3 separate regions of the Homo sapiens genome follow, and regions 2 and 3 are each linked to region 1. The links are contacts of gene promoters, found by promoter capture Hi-C in human tissues and cell types (Jung and others, 2019). All regions are on one chromosome and are shown on one strand. Each heading gives the region's core, a stretch centred on a gene start or on the middle of the fragment in contact. The rest is flanking DNA. Distances are from core to core; before and after follow the strand shown.

Evidence for each region. The method cuts DNA at HindIII sites, captures the fragments that hold promoters and counts their contacts. A contact is called where the count stands out against the background at its distance.
Region 2: a fragment that was not itself captured here is called in contact with the fragment with the promoter of METTL14 in region 1 in 4 of the 25 tissues and cell types used here (H1 embryonic stem cells, bladder, dorsolateral prefrontal cortex and 1 more).
Region 3: a contact is called between a fragment that was not itself captured here and the fragment with the promoter of METTL14 in region 1, in 2 of the 25 tissues and cell types used here (IMR-90 fibroblasts and hippocampus).

What each region holds. Positions count from the first base shown.
Region 1 is chr4:118,683,955-118,686,911 of GRCh38, forward strand. It overlaps METTL14 (methyltransferase 14, N6-adenosine-methyltransferase non-catalytic subunit), which reads left to right and starts at 1,438. Exons shown (of 11, transcript NM_020961.4): 1 at 1,438-1,646. The coding sequence starts at 1,581. It overlaps METTL14-DT (METTL14 divergent transcript), which reads right to left and starts at 1,387. Exons shown (of 7, transcript NR_125930.1): 1 at 1,351-1,387; 2 at 454-513. RefSeq lists enhancers at 1,397-1,656, 1,837-1,976. The HindIII fragment of the contact is 10,452 bases long and covers 1-2,105 here.
Region 2 is chr4:119,536,345-119,539,301 of GRCh38, forward strand. It overlaps PDE5A (phosphodiesterase 5A), which reads right to left. Exons shown (of 21, transcript NM_001083.4): 11 at 2,616-2,675. Among named protein-coding and RNA genes, the nearest start is that of PDE5A, 91 kb to the right of the region's middle. The HindIII fragment of the contact is 3,699 bases long and covers 1-2,957 here.
Region 3 is chr4:119,286,561-119,289,517 of GRCh38, forward strand. The region is part of intron 17 of USP53 (ubiquitin specific peptidase 53); the gene reads left to right. Among named protein-coding and RNA genes, the nearest start is that of ARLN, 13 kb to the right of the region's middle. The HindIII fragment of the contact is 6,576 bases long and covers 1-2,957 here.

The DNA of each region.
Region 1 (2,957 bases), core at 188-2,687:
ACTTTATAGACTCTAGGGCCTATCACAGTGCTTGCCATATAAAATGCTCAATCAATATCAACAGATATTTAAGTGAATAATTGCCTATTCTCACCATTGGTAAAATTTAAATCAGTATTCAACTTAAATGATTGCCAGATAATACAACTGATTTTTAAAGAAATACACTTTAACTCATATGGACATAAATATTTTACAGTATCCAAGTAGTGCTGACATTACTCAAGGAATTGTTTAGGACTACTTGTTCAAAATTGTCTTTCAGACCTAGTTCTTCGGAAATACATTATAATTATTTCTATAAAAGTGGGCATGACTAAGTAGAATCTAGTCTTGCCCACTTTTGGCCCAGCCTGACTCAACTGGTTTTGATCTGGATGACTTAATATTATTTCTGAAAATTAAATCTACTCTGAAAGAACAGACTTATTACTAATTTTGTTAAGTACTTACCGCGATTTCCAATTAAACTTGAGGCAACATGATGTCTTACTCCACTTCCGCCACTGTAGGCTTGAAATAAGATGGCAAGTGTGGTGAATAATAATGGTAATAACTCAAATAAGACTTTGGCCTTTGCTGCCATCCTATGAAGACAGAATCACCACCCCCCAGCCCTCACCCCTCACCCCCGCAATCCGAGTAATTTCAGGAAGCTATTTGTTTCCTTATCCTTGGGTTATTTTCAGTTAAGACAAATGTACAAGCACAAAAAGGAGTCTCTTAGCTTCTGACTCCTAGGACATAAACCAAGACACGCTTTACTATCACATACTCATTTCCCTAAAGGGAAGAAGCCAAAAAATGCATACTATAGTAAAATGGGAAACATTTCAAGGGACAGTAAGGTGTGGGGAAGAGTGGGCAGATGTTGTGGCTGTTACCTGCGTGAAGGTAAATAAAATATTAACAATAACAAGCACTTCTACACCGCTATGTGCAAGGTGCTATTTATCCTTTCAATCACAGCTCTGTGAGGTAGACACTTATGACTCCCATTTTACAGATGACAAAACTGAGGCTCACGAAGGTGGTTAACTAGCCAAGGCCACTCGTCTAGGAAGTGAGAGGCCAAGGTTCAATCCTAGGCAATCTGGCTTAAGTTTGTGTTCTGTTAAAAAAAAAAAAATTAAAGGTTATCTGGCAATTTTTTAAACGTCAGGACTGTCATCTGTGGAATCAATTGAAAAGGGAATCAACACTTCAGAAACTGTAATACACCAAGGGAACCTGCTATCCTGGGAAAGAGAGATAAAGGAGAAGTCAGCTGACTGTCCTCCTTCAGACTAGCTCAGACCACCCCAACCTGCGAGGGCCCTGGAGACCCCTGTGGCGCAACAGATCCCTTACTGGGTCCCTTCCAAGTGGCGTCACATAGCAAGCGTCCAGAAGGAGGCGGGACTTCCGGGCCAAGCGAGCCAATTCCGGCCGCGCCGGAAGTCTCTACTGAGGAAAGCTATGAGGATACTCTGTTCGTAAGCTCCCGGTGAATTTTGTTCCACAGACTCGGAAGAAAGGTTGGATAAGAGTTCACTGGAGATTGACAAGTACTCGGGATAGTGAAAAGCCGGAGTTGGAACATGGATAGCCGCTTGCAGGAGATCCGGGAGCGGCAGAAGTTACGGCGACAGCTCCTCGCGCAGCAGGTCCGCGGCCCTGGTGTCCCCTGTGGGAGGGATCGAGAATGCGAGTGCGCGGCCGCCTCCTCCCTCCACACCCCGCCTTTTTCTGTCCCTTCTCTACCTGCCGCTGTTAAGGCCTTTCTGGTCCTGCGATCTTGATCCCTGGTTCTGCCTTTGTAGTTCTCAATTTTCGCGGTGTCCCGAATGTTTTTCCAGTTCCTTCCGCGGTCTTTGTGGTGCTAAACCGAATGCCAGGATTAGCCTTTAAGCTTTGTGGAACTCCCACCGAGTGTCTGGCATGTTCACGCCAGGATGAGTGTCATGTTATCCCCTACATTTCTCTTCACTATTAAATGGTCATCTATTTCTTTCTTTTCTTCGTCGTCAGCCCCAAATTCTTGAGATTGTGGTTTCATTATGAAATACGTTTACAGTATTTTCTTTGACATCTTTCTGAAGACAACACTGGAAGTAGCCTGAGTGTAAATTTTAGATTCTGCATCTTATATAGAGTATCCTTGTCACATCCACAGTTAATATTTGAAATCTTACTCTGTGTTAGTCACAATAATCTCCTGAAACAGGTATTATTACCTTCACTTATCAAGTAATGAAAAAGGCTCCATACGTTAAGGAATTTTACTCCTGGTCGCTCACTTCTCTGCTGGGAAATAGAACCTAGGTTTGTCTCCCCAAAGCTTGTCTTCTAAACCATTGTCCTTCACTTCTTTCTTGTGTATGAGTAAGTTAACATTTGCTGATTAGTAGAGTGCACATGCAGAAAATACAGATTGTGCACAGTTCTACTTAAAATCGAGGCTGTATTTTCCATTCTACTATTCAGATCAGTAAAAGTGATAGGAGCAATGCTCATAGAGTGTAATTAGTCATCTTGCAGTTATTTTTCAGTAATGAAACTTGGTTTTAGTAAATGGACTTCTGAAACCTATCCTCTTTATGGTCTGATGAACAGATTTGTGGAATATGGCTAAAACCGTGGAAACTTGGAGTCAGATTTGTTCCTTTGTTCCTTATCCCGCTGGCATTACGATCTTGGGCAAATCAAGTATCCTTTCTAAGTCTTCTTTTCGCCAACTTCTTTTATCGTATTATCTTCAAAAATGTTAAGTAGCTCTTTGTTGCTACCACAGAAGACGTTTTACTCCTTAATATTGAATTCAAACTTCTATTTGACTCAATATACATTCATAGGACAATTATTTGTTTAGTGTTTTACACTCAGCAGATGCCAGGGGCTCTACCTTTTAAAGTCTTTTATGAATTGGTTGCACTCTACTTAGCCAGCCTTATAACCATTATTTGTTTACATTTGTT
Region 2 (2,957 bases), core at 190-2,689, 850 kb after region 1:
ATTTTAGAAATAACTTAACCCTGCAGTGCCTGCAGGAACTTCAATATGTAGACAATTTCTAAATCACCAAACATATTGCTCGAAAACTACATCCTTCTAGGAAGAATAGACAAATGGGCCAATTAAGCCTGAGGTGAATAATACTTTAAACCTGTAAAGCTTTGTAAATAATTGAAAAACTGTTCATCACTTCAAATACTGTCATCAACATACAAAATAAATATAGACAATTCCATATGAGGTTAACTCAAAAAGGACCTTAACCTTTCAGGTGCAATTAGTATCTAAAGTTCATAGAATTGTTCTTGGCAGTTAACTCAGTTTCACTGGCAAATGACTCAGTTTCTTACTCATGGATTTAACTGAAAATGTTTACAAGTCCTCATTTTACTTTGTTCTGTCTAACTTACTCTCTCTCCAGTGCTGTGCAATCTTGTGTGGGCTCTGGATCCAGACTGCCTGGATTTAGTACTGGCACCATTCCCTCCTTACAACCTAATGAGATCCTGAGAAGCACAATAGAAACTCTCTAAGCCACAAATTCCCTCTTACAAAATGCTAACAATACTGATCATTTAGGTTGTGGATTCAGTAAACTTAGTTGACTTACACAAAGAACTTAAAACACGCTCGGTATACAGGAAGTGCTCAACAAATGTAGCTATTATTATTATCTGTATCCTCTTGTTTGGGCAAAAGAAATGTTGCTCTTTCATGCCTAGCCCTCTTCAAGGTCCTTATCTCTTCACTGTCTTGCATTGTTATTCTCACACTGACTCCTGTGCCTCCGCCTTTGCCTAAGAACATTCTGCCTCTCTTGCTTGTGAGCAATGCCAGCTCACACATTCAAAACCTAACCAAACAATAAAAAACTTCACATGATTCGGGCAACATCCTTCATAGCTGCTCCTCCACTCTGTTTTACACAAAACATTACAATTTTTGAATAGTCTATATTCATTTCTTCCACCATTTACTTTTACCTTTTGCAGTTTCACTTCCCTGAAACTGCGTTCTCAATAATCACTTAATCAACGAATCCACAGCAGCTTTTTCACAATCCTCATATTTCTCATCCTTCCTACCACTGATGAGATCTCCTCCCTTTTTGAAACTACTTTATTTTGCCTTCTGTGCCACTGCACTATCCTAAATCTTCCTCCTTGTTTAACTACCACTTCTCTACCTTCTTGGCTGTTTTCTTTTCCTGTTCCTTCCATCTAAGGCTATATTCACAGGAGTTCTGTTCTCAGTCTCTCTACCTCTCTGCATTCTCTCCCAATTGATGCACCCCTATGATTTCACTACCATGGGATGTTAACTCCCAAATCTCCACCTCTAGTTCTAAACACCACCACCTCATCGCTTGAGTCCTGCCTTTTCTGATTGCTGAAGATGTTCACTTGGTTGTTCAACCAGCACCTCAAACTTACCTTGTCCTAAATCAAACCTGCAGTTTCAGGGAAGTGAAACTGCAAAAGGTAAAAGTAAATGGTGGAAGAAATGAATATAGACTATTCAAAAATTATAATGTTTTGTGTAAAAGAGAGTGGAGGAGCAGCTATGAAGGGTGTTGCTTGAATCATGTGATTCTTAATATTCATCTTAATATTTCCACTTTTATGAATTAATGTCACCATCATTCTTTGAATTGCCAAGGTCAAAATATTTGGATCATCTTTCCTGTCTCAGCACAGTGTTCTGTGCACAAGCTCTGGATGGTGAACTTGTATCCTCATTCTTTCACTGCATGGCAGTGACCTTGAGCAAGTCACTGGGCTTCTCCAGGCTTCAGTGCGGCCTTCATAACATAGTTATGAAGTTTACATGAGAAAACAGTTGTGCAGTTTACATGAGAAGATGTACATAAGGGCACAAAGAGTTTAGCATGTGGCAAACTATGATGAGGATGACAGAAAAAGACTCTCAATGATCTGTTCACACTTTTCTCATTCCTTACATAACTGTTGTCACAACTCACATGGCCCTTACCTATGTCATCGCAAATACATTTAAACACAGGAGGACAACCTAGGTTGTAAAGTGTTAAAGTGCCTCAAATTTTCATTAATCTCAACCAAGCCATTCCAAACCAAGACCTACAACATACATCTACTTACATATCCATGTGCTTTTCTCTCATTGTATGCTAAATAATGCAAAGAGAATTCAGGAACTGACCTTATTTGACCCCAATTTCAAACAGCATTTTATAAGCCATATGGTCAGAAATTAAAATCACTCTCAATTCTTGATAATACAGAGTAGGTATCAGTAACAAACTATAAATTGTTTTGTTATTACCCTAGCCAAACAACCACCTCATGGTCCCCATTTCTCCAGGAACTAAAAGAAAAGTAAATTTAATTTTGGCCCCAAAAAGATGTAATGATTATAACAATTACTGGAAAACAAATATCAGAATCATACACTATATTACACAGTCAGTATAAGTTATTTAATGCCTTTTGCTTTGTATTATCAGTGACTTTGCATCCCTGCAAGAAAGCAGAGTTAATTAAACATTTTTATAAGTATCCATCTAAATATTTACCAAATTTGGTTAAATTAGGTGTCTGTAATTAGTAATTTTTAAAAAGAAAGAGGATAATTACCGCTAACGACTGTAGCTCTCTTGTTTCTTCCTCTGCTGCTGAAGCATGATACGACAGAACCTACAGGGTAGGAAAAGAAGTCCAGGTTACACAGGAGAGAACTACCACATGTAGACTAGAACTTCAAGCTTGGAATTCTGCTAAGTCTTCTTGGAGAGATAATTAGACTCCTCAGAATGCCAAATCTTGTTTGCTGTTTTCTTCAACAGTGAAAAACCCAGATTTAGATTCCATTGCTTGTTTTGGAAAACAAAAAGTTATACTCCCTATGTTTAAAGAAAACTCTTGTAACTTCCAGTCTGACATTATTGCTATAACAAACACATTATTTATAAGCCAGCC
Region 3 (2,957 bases), core at 191-2,690, 600 kb after region 1:
ACATGCTCATAAAACCTATGCTGCCTCCTGCTGCCCATTGTGTGAATAATTTATAAAAGTAAAGAATTACTTAAGAACTAAATATTTACTTGTTTCTTGTTTGTGAATATTAAACTTGAAATTATGAATTGGTGAATAAATTATGAATTGGCTAATAATATGAAGTTAAAAATCACACTGGGTAGCAAATTACATTTCAACTTAAAAATTAAGCTGTGAACATTGACAAATTATTGAAGTTCTTTTTGACATCTTATTTCTTGTCACATCTTTTTTTAATCATAAAATAGCTGTTGAAAAGATTGGCAAAGTTTTCGAGCCTCAGGCAGTGTGTCAGGCTTACCCACAGTGATTTTCTTAAACATGAAAAATAATATATTCCTTCTAGAGAGACTCTGGGATAAATTTTACTGCTTTTTAAAAGTGTTATGAGTATAGCACTTATAGACTTAAGTGGGAGGGAAAGATAAGATTTGTCTCAATTCATACTTAACTTGTCTTGCACCACTGAGTTGGGAACATGATGGGCAGGGTGGAGGTGACTTAAAAGAAGTAAAACTGTGTTTTTGAGGCAATTGTTTATTCTGCAGACCTTCATTTGAATGTCTTTTGTATGCTAGATACTGTGTTAACTTCTGGGCAAATTTTTTTTTTTAAAGGCACGTATATAATCAGAGCGCTTACAGCAATTTAGTGGAAGTAAACGTGTTAAATCTTAAATGAATGCCAGATTTATAGTTCCTCTCATTCTACCATCTTAAGTTTTTATTATTTACTATATGGAGCGATGTTGGCATAGAGGGTATTAAATTCTCATGTATATTACATGACTCTTTCTTGGAAATTGCTTCCAAGATTTAACTTGCAGAGCCTGATCATAATCAAATATAGATTATTTTTCCCCTATAGGGCAATACCTAAAAAATATCTAAGATAAAGAACACTTATTGTTTAAAAAATAAAATCACTGCTTTAATAACTTTGTTTTCTTTGCAGTCTTCATAGATTTGGTGTACAGTAAAGTAGAAACAGGAGAATGAGAGGAAAATGAGATAAATGAACATGATGAAAATGTCAACTAAAAATACGGGAGAATGCAGAAAAACTTACTAGAAATGTTACAGAAGTGTAGACGATTAATTGACAGTTCATGCTAATGCCATATATTTTGCTATCTTCTATGGGCATCAGCATGTTATTTGATGTTCACACTAGTGGCCTAGTTTCATCAGAAGGAGATTTAGTATAATGTCTTTGTATGTTAATGGCATAGTGCAGTGGCATGAGCACTAGCTTTGGAGTGAACCCTGGATTGGTTTAAATGCTCCTACTTACCAGATATATAGAATATAGATTAGGTCACTTAACTTCACTGAGCCTAAGTTTCCTCAAGTGTAAAAAGGGGAATTGTTTCACAGAACAGTTGTGACTGATGTTTTAAAAGACAACTATTACCAACTAGAACAGTAGTTGTCAAACTTTTGGGCCTCAGATATCTTTATAATCTTAGAAAAGGATTTATGACCTAAAAGAGCTTTTGTTATGGTTATGTCTTATATAGGTTATGTCTTATATAGGTTATGTCTATCAACATTTGCTAGATTAGGCACTAAAACTGAAACTTTCAAAATATTTATTCATTTAAAGAAATAAACCCAGTACATGCTAACACAAATAACATTTTTAAATGAAAATTAACTATTGAAAACAAAAATTTAGTGAGATGAATGGCATTGTTTTATGCTTTCAAATCTCAGTTAATGCTTGGCTTCATGTAAGATGGCTGGATTCTTGTTTTTGCATCAGACTGTTGTGATGTTTTCATGTATGAAGAAAGCCCATTTACACACAGATAATACAGTTGGAAATAGGAATATTTTAATAGCTTTTCCTAAAAATTGTGGATATTATTCTTTGACACTACACCAAGTAGTAGTTTCTTTAATGCAGTGTGAAATCTGAAACCATAGTATTTAACTTTTCGTCCTCCATTACATTAAAATACATCAGTCTGTCTTGCACTTTGAATGGATACTTTACTCATGCATGATTTTGTAACATCCATGTAGGGTCATTTAAAAAATACTGGTTTGCAGCCGGGCACGGTGGCTGACACCTGTAATCCCAGCACTTTGGGAGGCCGACGCTGGCGGATCACCTGAGGTTTGGAGTTCGAGACCAGCCTGACCAATATGAAGAAACCCCGTCTCTACTAAAAATATAAAAAATTAGCCAGGCGTGGTGGCGCATGCCTGAAATCCCAGCTACTCAGGAGGCTGAGGCAGGACAATTGCTTGAGCCTGGGAGGCGGAGGTTGCAGTGAGCCGAGATCGTGCCATTGCACTACAGCCTGGGCAACAAGAGCGAAACTCTGTCTCAAAAAAAAAAAAAAAAAAAAAATACTGGTTTGCTGAGTTATGCAGGGCTTCCAAGTGTTGATACATTTCACTAATATCTTTCTAAAAACTATTTTTGTTACTATCACCATAGATACTAGCAGAAAGTCTTTATAAGTATTGGGAAGTTGCAAAACTTGTGGTGGATACAAGTTTTCTTCAAACAGGTGTCATGCTTAGTATTACCACAGCAAAAGTGCTTTATGCATATTTCCCATTTCCTCATATAGAATAACAAAAAGATGTGCAAATGAAGTAAATTAATAAAATAATTGTTACTGTTTCATCAAGCATTCTTTAAGTAAAACTGGCTTAAAAAACACAAGTATATGGCAATGAAGAATACAATTAGTACAGTTTAGTGTTACTGCCTTGAATTATGCTAACATTTTTACCCATTATTGTTTTTGCGTCATCAGTGTAAATGGCAACACAGTCAAAAAGTAAAGTAACATCTTAATATTATCATGAAAATAGTTTGACTTCATAGACCCTCTGAAAGGGTCTCGGAGACCTCCCGGGGTCCAAGGCCACACTTCGAGAATTGCTGAACAAGCATAA